Regions from separate parts of the Homo sapiens genome. Here all the other regions are linked to region 1. The links are contacts of gene promoters, found by promoter capture Hi-C in blood cells and fetal thymus (Javierre and others, 2016). All regions are on one chromosome and are shown on one strand. The core of a region is centred on a gene start or on the middle of the fragment in contact, and the rest is flanking DNA. Distances in the headings are between cores, read along the strand shown. Region 1 holds the start of PITRM1-AS1 (PITRM1 antisense RNA 1). Region 2 overlaps MANCR (mitotically associated long non coding RNA). Region 3 overlaps MANCR (mitotically associated long non coding RNA).

Evidence for each region. Contacts are between HindIII fragments. The CHiCAGO score rates a contact against its expected background, and 5 or more counts as called.
Region 2: a contact is called between a fragment that was not itself captured here and the fragment with the promoter of PITRM1-AS1 in region 1, in 1 of 17 cell types (fetal thymus). The highest score is 6.6, in fetal thymus.
Region 3: a fragment that was not itself captured here is called in contact with the fragment with the promoter of PITRM1-AS1 in region 1 in 1 of 17 cell types (monocytes); the score reaches 5.4 in monocytes.

The regions. Positions count from the first base shown.
Region 1 is chr10:3,140,145-3,143,193 of GRCh38, reverse strand. It overlaps PITRM1-AS1 (PITRM1 antisense RNA 1), which reads right to left and starts at 1,593. Exons shown (of 4, transcript NR_038284.1): 1 at 1,425-1,593; 2 at 106-222. It overlaps PITRM1 (pitrilysin metallopeptidase 1), which reads left to right. Exons shown (of 27, transcript NM_014889.4): 24 at 2,382-2,507. RefSeq lists enhancers at 852-1,351, 1,352-1,853. The HindIII fragment of the contact is 14,067 bases long and covers 1-3,049 here.
Region 2 is chr10:4,656,391-4,659,396 of GRCh38, reverse strand. MANCR (mitotically associated long non coding RNA) reads left to right here. Exons shown (of 4, transcript NR_024475.1): 3 at 1,672-1,796. The region is part of intron 1 of LINC00705 (long intergenic non-protein coding RNA 705); the gene reads right to left. Among named protein-coding and RNA genes, the nearest start is that of LINC00705, 1.7 kb to the right of the region's middle. The HindIII fragment of the contact is 1,745 bases long and covers 803-2,547 here.
Region 3 is chr10:4,673,578-4,676,277 of GRCh38, reverse strand. All of the region lies in intron 1 of MANCR (mitotically associated long non coding RNA), which reads left to right. The region is part of intron 1 of LOC105376373 (a long non-coding RNA gene); the gene reads right to left. Among named protein-coding and RNA genes, the nearest start is that of MANCR, 3.1 kb to the left of the region's middle. The HindIII fragment of the contact is 1,609 bases long and covers 506-2,114 here.

The DNA of each region.
Region 1 (3,049 bases), core at 344-2,843:
CCAGTCATTTTTGTAAACAATTTCTATTATTGAGGAGTCCTATGAACAATACAGATACCTATGACCTTAAACACAGACTGCTTTCAACATGCCCCATGTACTCACCTCATCTCTAGGTAAAAATCGAATGAATTTAGGCTGAGATTTCTGATAAACATGGTAGGTTAAGCCTTCATGAGGACAGATGCGTGAATGACAGCAAAGGCAGATCAAGACACGAAGCTACAAGGGAAAGAGTGGGAGGTGACCCGGAGAGCCATGGGGGCTGCAGGAGAACCTCGTGAGCCAGACTCTGGGTGGGTGGGGGGTGCCTGACCTGGGGCCACAGAGGGACAGGGCAGTGGGGAGAAACCAGGTGGTCCTGCAGAGCCCTGCAGATGGCAGGGCTGGAGGCCGCCTCACAGTCCCTCTAAGGAGTTTGTCTCCCCTGTCTCCCCACCAAGTCAGAAGCTCAGGGAAGGAGGCCCTGGGTTGAGCAGCCGAAGCCACAGCCAAGAGTCAGGGTCAGGCCTGTTCCCAAAGTGGCGTGGGGCGAGGGAGTTTGCAGCCTACAGACTGGCCCTCCAGCCCCTTCTTCCGAACTCTGGCTGCCCCTTGGCTGTGTTCATCCCATCTGGGGAAACTGGCCAGACCAGGACAGACTCACAGACGTGCACCTTTGGGGACCCGTCAGTTGGGTGTGTATGACACAGATATGTGCAAACATGTTATATCCCGGAAATTCACTTCCTGTGTCCTTGTCCCAGGCAGCTACCCCCATGAGGGACTAAACCAAGGAGTGAGCCTGGTAGAGAGGGGGAAGGCAGGCTTAGGCCTGGGCAGCCTGTCCTGATTGGAGAAGGAGCCGGGCCTCCGAGGTGCACGTGTGTCACAGAGGGTCACAGATGGGGAGGTGTGTAGGAGGCAGGCGGGAAGAAACGTGGGGCTGCAGTGGGGGCCCAGAAAGAGCTGGCTGTAGAAGTATGTGGTCAGCTGTTTTGTTCATTTATTTCCATATTTGTAGAAGATGAACAGATCTGTCTGCTATGCCGGCAGAAGAGTGGTGTCTGTTTCCACTATCCAACAGGAAAATGTAGACAGAAAACACTAAAAATGTGGAGGTTCCCCCTGGGCAGTGGGATTCCAGATCTTTTTTTCCTTGTGTTTTGTATTTTATAATCTTTCAAAAGTGAGCATGTTTTTAATATACAAGTAATAGAAATTTCTCAGGAAGGATAATGTGTGGACGGATGGAACGCCATCCCTGCCGGTGCTGGTGGAGACTCCGTCCCCCAGGGTCTGACTCCAGCCTCGCTAGTCCCGGCTGACGGCGCCCCAGCCACCCGAGTGGCGCTGGGTTTCTCCTGGAGGACCCACACGAGATGGTCGTGACTTCTCCCACCACAGCCCCTGGGAACACGCCCACTCCTTCCTTGATTTCCCACCTGGCCTATTTGACTCCCTTCATCCACTTTAGGAAAAGGCCTGTCTGTGGAAGCGGCGACCTGGGGCTGATCTCACCACGGGCGTCTTCAAGGAGCCTGTGTCTGTGCTGCAGACCCTCCCATCATTGTCTGCCCCGCCTTCTGTCGGAGGTGGATGTGTTCTAGAATCAGCTTGAATGTGATGTTACCGTTCACAGTGGAAGGCAGAGGAAATTGGCCCTGTTCCTAGAAATGTGCTTTATCAGAGAGTGTGTGTTTTCTTAAGGGATTCTTATAAAACTCACTTCAGTTTCCTTTCTTTCCATATTCTGATGTGAGACATTTAAATAAATGTTCATTTGCTCATTTGCCTTTATAATAGAAATAACCTCTTTCTACTTCACGAGATTTTAAAAATGCCACATGTGCATTGGAACAAGTTAAGCAGTGTGGTGCTGGAAGTGTTAAGATTCCCTCCCCACCACCTCTCCCTTCAACCCTGTAATCTAAGCCAACTGTTTGAAAATTGTGCTTCCTTGTGCTTTTTAGTTTTGGTTAATTGAAAAGAAAATCTCATGCCTGTAAGCTCAGCACTTTGAAGGCAGGAGGATCACTTGAAGCCAGGTGTTTGAGACCAGCCTGGGCAACAAAGCTAGACCCTGCCTCTACAAAAACTGTAAAAATAGTCAGGCGTGGTGGCACACACCTGTAGGCCCAGCTACTCAGGAGGCTGTTGTGGGAGGATCCCTTGAGCCCAGGAGTTCAAAGCTGCAGTGAGCTGTGATTGCACTAATGCACTCCAGCCTGGCGACAGAGCGAGACCCCATCTCTTAAAAAACAAGACCAAAATATGGGACCATAATTTATGCAGCATTATTTTACAACTCGATTTTCATTTTCACTTAATCCAACAATTACTTCATTGTCTATGCTTTTTTATCAGCCACGGTATTAACTTGCATTTTTTAATCATTTCAGTCTTAAAATCCTTGCACGTTTGATGACTGCCAAATTCTTGCATACAGAAATTCGAGAAAAAGGCGGTGCTTATGGTGGAGGCGCAAAACTCAGCCACAATGGGATTTTCACCCTTTACTCTTACAGGTGAGTTTTGCTCTAGTTCACACATTGGGATGCACACGTCGTTTTAGTCTTCTACTCATGATTATCAGTGTCATTTTCTTCTACTGCAGTGAATTTTAGACAAAAGTTGTTCTGTGTGCTTCTTTTCACTCCTTGGGCACTTAGCCACACCCAGCAATGTCCTTTCTGGCGCGAGGATTAGGGCCAGCAGCCGAAACAGGAAGCATTCTGCCTTCAGTAAACCCTGGCTTCAGCCAGCATATTTTGGCAGAACACGGTAGTGCCTCCATCCGTGGGTTTGCCTTCCATGGTTTATTACCCACAGTCCCCCTCGGTCTGAAAATATTAAATGGAAAATTCCAGACATAAACACTTCCTAAGTTTTAAATTGTACACCATTCTTCTAAGCAGTGGGATGAAAGCTGACGCTGTCTACGGTACCTGCCTGTTGGTCACCCAGTAGCCGTCTAGGTATCAGATACGCTGTGGGTATCCAAGAGCTTCTGTTCACAGAACCCTTGTTTTACTTAATAGTAGCCCATCAGCGTAACTTTTATTACAGT
Region 2 (3,006 bases), core at 426-2,925, 1.5 Mb before region 1:
TTGTCTCTACTAAAAATACAAAAATTAGCTGGGTGTGGTGGCTCACACCTGTAATCCCAGCTACTCGGGAGGCTGAGGCAGGAGAATTGCTTGAACCCAGGAGGCAGAGGCTGCAGTGAGCCGAGATTGCTCGCTGCACTCCAGCCTGGTGAGAGTGAGATTCCGTCTAGAAAAAAAAAAAAAAAAAAAGACAAGTTTCTGCTTGACTTATAAGACCTAATCCAATGTATTTCTAAATCAAATAACAGATAGATGAAGGCATTTTTAAAGCAATTATCTCAGGTTTTCAAAACAGGTTTAAGAATGCGGTATCAAAGCCTGGACTAGGTTTCAATATTTCAGTATTTACAGATGACGTCTCAGAAAACAAAGAAGCCGTTATTGACAAGTGCTTTCCAGGCCAAAGGCAAGTGCCAGGGAGTATAGTGACAGTGGATTTGCTGCCAAACTGATGATTTTTTCTTGTTTTCTTTTCAGCCCTATTTGTCCTGGGCTCGGAATGTTGATGCAGCTATTTCTATTTGGTTATGGGTAAGGAAACGCTGCATTTATCACTGTGCCTACGTTTTCCTTCAAAGAGGCACGTGTAACTGTGTTCAATTGCAACTGAGAGCGTATTTTAAAAAGGAATTTGGCTTCAATGTCATTAACTGACCTTAAATAAATTGCTTGTGAGATTTTACAATATTAAACTTAGCTCAGAAGAAATGCTGAAATTAGTAAATAATGATTTTTAAGAACTTATATATGTCATCTTTTAAAAAACCTGCTACTTCAAATAACTTCAAAGTGAGGAAAAGCTTTTATCAGCTTTAGAGTTAAAATGCAGATGTTAATCGCAGGTTAGGATCTTGATAATTTCTAAAAAGACAAATGCAGCATTATTTGTAAAAGTACATACAGTCGTGTACAGCATAACAACGTTTTGTTCAACGAAGGACCACATATACCATGGTGATCCCTCAAGATTATAATGGAGCTGGCAAACTCCTGCCAACTCATCAGGCAGTCGCCACTGTAAGACTGTAGCAAAATGCATTAGTCCTGTGTTCGTGGTGATGCTTGTGTACACAGACTTACTGCACTGCCAGTCATATAAAAATACAGCACATACAATAAGGTATAGCACATAATACCTGACAATGATAATAAATGATTAGGTTACTAGTTTAATATGCTATAGTTTTTATTGTTATTTTAGATTGTACTCTTTATGTTAATATATTATTAAAAGGTCAGTTGTGAAACAGCTTCAGGCACTTCCTTCAGGAGCTATCCAGAAAAAGGCATTGTCATCATAGGAGATGCCAGCTTAATGCGTGACGTTGCCCCTGAAGACCTTCCAATGGGGCAAGAAATGTAGGTGGAAGACAGTGATAATGATCCTGACCCCGTGTAGGTGTAGGCTATTGTGTGGTTTGTGTTTTAGTTTTTAACAAAAAAGTTTAAAAATTAAAAAATTAAACAATATAAGAGCGCTTATAGAATACGGATATAAAAAGAGACAATATTTTTGTTCAGCTATACAGTGGATTTGTGTTTTCAGTGGAGTGTAATTACAAGAGTCAGAAAGTTAAAACAAAGTGAAAAGTTTATACTGTAAAAAAAGTTATAGTGGGCTAAGGTTAATTCATTATTGATGAGAGAAATTTTTTTGTACATTTTGTGTAGTCTAAGTGTACAGTGCTTGTAAAGTCTGCAGTAGCATACAGTAATGTCCAAGGCTTTCACATCCACTCACCACTCGCTCACTGACCCAGCCAGAGCAACTTCCAGTCCTGAAAGCTGCATTCATGGTGAGTGTCCTACACAGGTGCATCATTTTTATCTTTTATACCATATTTTTACTGTATCTTTTCTATGTTTAGATATGTAAATACCATTGTGTTACAATTGCCTACAGTATTCAGGACAATAACAGGCTGTACATGTTTGTTGCCTAGCAGCAGTAGGTGTGTAGTAGGCTCTTCTGTCTAGTTTTGTGAAAGTTCACACTATGATGTTTGCATAACAACAAAATCACCTATGGATGCGTTTCTCAGAATGTATCCCCATTGTTAAACGATGCATGGCTCTGTGTGTGTATGTGCAGGACTCTGTGTGTGTGGTATATGCATACCACATACGCACACATCCACACTATACTATGCACTCTACATATATACAACTACATAGGCAAATATAAAGCTGCATGTGCATAAATACACAAACAAACACACATACATATGTATAAAAGGTAATGTATTGATATTAATACTGACAATGTGTACTAAGCATATATTTATATACCCTTAAATGTATATTATTTTAATACATACTATATTATGTTATATACTAATACACTTTTTTAAAACTGAAAGAAATCTCGTTGCCAATTTGTGTTTCTAAATATGATGTCCATATTTTTTCTGATTTTATTACTATAGCTGTGATCACGTCATGTAACTTAATTTTGATGATGTTTCTCACAGTATAGTTTGAGGGTATCCAGCCTCAGATTATCTGAGGATGTAGCTCAAGATTTCCTAATTTTGCAAACAGCAAGCTTCCCAGGAGATTCTTAGATTCCTGCTAACAAAAGGCGGAGACTCACTGGACAGTTACTGAAGATAGACAGTAGGGGGCGGAAGGGCCCACGCTTCTTTGATATTGGTGGCTTTGGTTTTTCAGTGACGGGGGACACTTTGACTTCAGGTATGTTCTGCATTTAGAATTTTCAAATGAACGTTTCTTGTCTGTTCCCTTCTTTTTTCTGCCTCCAAACATAATGTCTATCATTGTAAAAGTAATAAAAAATCACTGAACAAAATTTGGAAAATACCAAATGAATAACAATAGAAATAAAGTAAAAAAAGAACCACTCAAATTCCCATCATCAAGAAATAAACATTCTGATAATATTTAATTTTATTTTCCTATATATATTGTGTGTGTGTATATATGTATGTGTATATATATACATATATTCAAAATGTATTATAACACAAAATGTATAAAATATATAAT
Region 3 (2,700 bases), core at 61-2,560, 1.5 Mb before region 1:
AGAACTGTAAAACTAGAAAACAAATTATCTGCTTCCAAAACACAATGGTGGAACGTATGAGGTTGTCTCTATTTTGCCTTCATATTCTGAAGAATACATTTGTTGGATGTAGAATTGTGGGTTGGCAGTTTCTTTCCTTGCATTACCTTATAATATTTTTCAACTGTCTTCTCACATCTAAAATTTCTGACAAGAAAAAGATATTTGAAACATTTTTTGCATGTATGTAATATGCCATTTTTGTCTGGCTTGTGAAAACATTCTTTCTTTGGCTTTAAATACTTTGACTATTACATACTTGCTCATTTTAATGATGTTTGCTCACACTTGGAATTTACTGAGCTTCTATAATCTGTAAATTTATCTTTTACCTAATTGAAAAAGTTCAGTTTTTTTTTTTCAATAATTGTGTGTCTGTATGTCCCATTTTCTTTCTCTTCTGCTGTGGAACTGCAGTTACATGGATATTGGAACTTCAGAGATTATTTCACAGGTCCATGAAGCTTTGTTCACTTTGCTTATCAATCTTGGTATTGTTCAGATTTTAAAAAGTTCTGTTGATCTCTCTGACCCCTTTCTTTGTCAATTCTATTATTCTGTGAAGCCCAATTAGTGTGTGCTTACTGCATACATTGTATTTTTCCCTTCTTGCATTTCTTGTTTGTTTTGTTTTGTTTGTTTGTTTTTGTTTGAGACAGCATCTCACTCTGTCACCCAGACTGGATTGCAGTGGTGCAATCTTGGCTCACTGCAGCCTCCACCTCCCAGGTTCAAGCGATTTACCTGCCTCAGCCTCCCAAGTAGCTGGGATTACAGGTGCATGCCATCACACCCAGCTATTTTTGTATTTTTTGTAGAGATGGGGTTTCACAATGTTGGCCAGGCTGGTCTCGAACTGTTGACCTCAGGTGATTAGCCCACCTCAGCCTCCCAAAGTGATGGGATTACAGGTGTGAGCCACTGCACCTGGCTGATTCTTGCATTTCTGTTTGAGACTTTTTCCTAGTTTCTATTTGCTGATGAAACTATTTGTATTTTGATTATTAAGAGCATATTTCTTTTTACACTACTGAGTGTAGTTAAAATAGTTAAAATAATATCCTATGTGCTTATTTCAACATATGTTCATTTGGGTATTGTTTTCCATAGGTTGTCTTTTCTCTTGAGAATGAATGAAATATCCATTCTTTCTTCACCTATTGACTGGATTTGTATTGTTTCTTGAATACTCTGAAGATGTAGAGACTGAATCCTGTTATAATCCTTAATAGAGTATTGATTTTCTAAATTTTAGCGGACAATTATTTTAGACTCATGAACATTGTGTTTTGAACACAGCTCAAAATTCATTCCAAAGTGCTTTGATCCTGCCTTGTGTATGCATGGTTTAAGGTTGGTTAGTTAATTGGCTGAAATTTGTGCATGGGATCTGGGCTCCCCGTCTCTGGCCATCTCCTTTCTGGAATATCTCCCTCACTTTCTGGTGGAAATGATTATTTCAAACTCTGTTCTCCAGTTCTTTAGAACAGAAAAAGTATGGGTTTTCTATCAAGGATTTACTTATTAATGCTGACTGCAATCTGCATTGAGGCTAAAATAATTGAGAACACAGGAAAATTACCCCATGCCATTCTTTCTTCCAAATTGATTCCCTCCTATAATCTTTCAGCCTCTGCTCAATCTGCACTGCCTCCAGGCTACTATTCAAAAAATTTATCCAGGTTTCGAGTGGTTATTTGTGGGGAAATTGGCCTGGCAGGAGCATCTTTGGCCATGCCTGAAGTGGAACACATACAAAATGCTTTTTTGCATTGTCTTTGGCTGAAGCCACTAATATTTCAACTTCCCAAAATATGTCTCTTCTTCATGTATTAACTTGGGATTTTCACAATTCTTTTATAATATTAATTTGGACTACAAATTTGTGCGAAGATCGAAGTAGAATTTAATTTGTTGTAAAAAGCATTTTCTCCCCCAACTGAGTCCCATTCAGATGGCTACTTCACTTGGAGTATTTTTGTCCCTATATGGGGGCATTTTCTCTTATTATTAATAGTAGCTTTTCAATAGTCCCCAGATTTTGCAAGTATCTACTTGAAATTCAAGTATAAGCTTAAGACAGTAACTAGTCTCTTATCTCCTCTTCTCTTATGGGTATTTAAACCTCAACCATTTCACATTCTTCTTTTCATGCTGAGAAAATTATCTTACACCCAGTAAATATGCAGAATCTTTAAAGGACTGAAAAAAATAGGGAAATGTTTAACGTAGTTATCAAGGTAGGTACCTCACACAAGAAACTGCTTGATGATGAACATTTAAGTTTCAAAGCAGGAAAGATAGCCCTTGTGATGAAGGCGATTAGAACGTGATACAAATGACTCTTAGTTTTTCAGTGGACCAGAGCAACAGTTACTGGTTAGTTCAACAGGTGAGACTCAGTCACAAAGAGTTTACGGATCTCGCTGAAAATAATGAAGACAGGTACCATGGCAGAATCACTACCCTATACACAACTGACTCTCTGAGATGAGTGCCTAAACCACATGGCAACCAAATAGGTATTATAATTAGTTTGTGAGAAAGTGGTAATAGTACTTGTTGCAAATCTTGATGTTGTTTTATTAAACAAAACTAAAATATAATTTTATTTAATATTAAAATAATGTTGCAAATATCAATTGATGTAAAATTTATTTG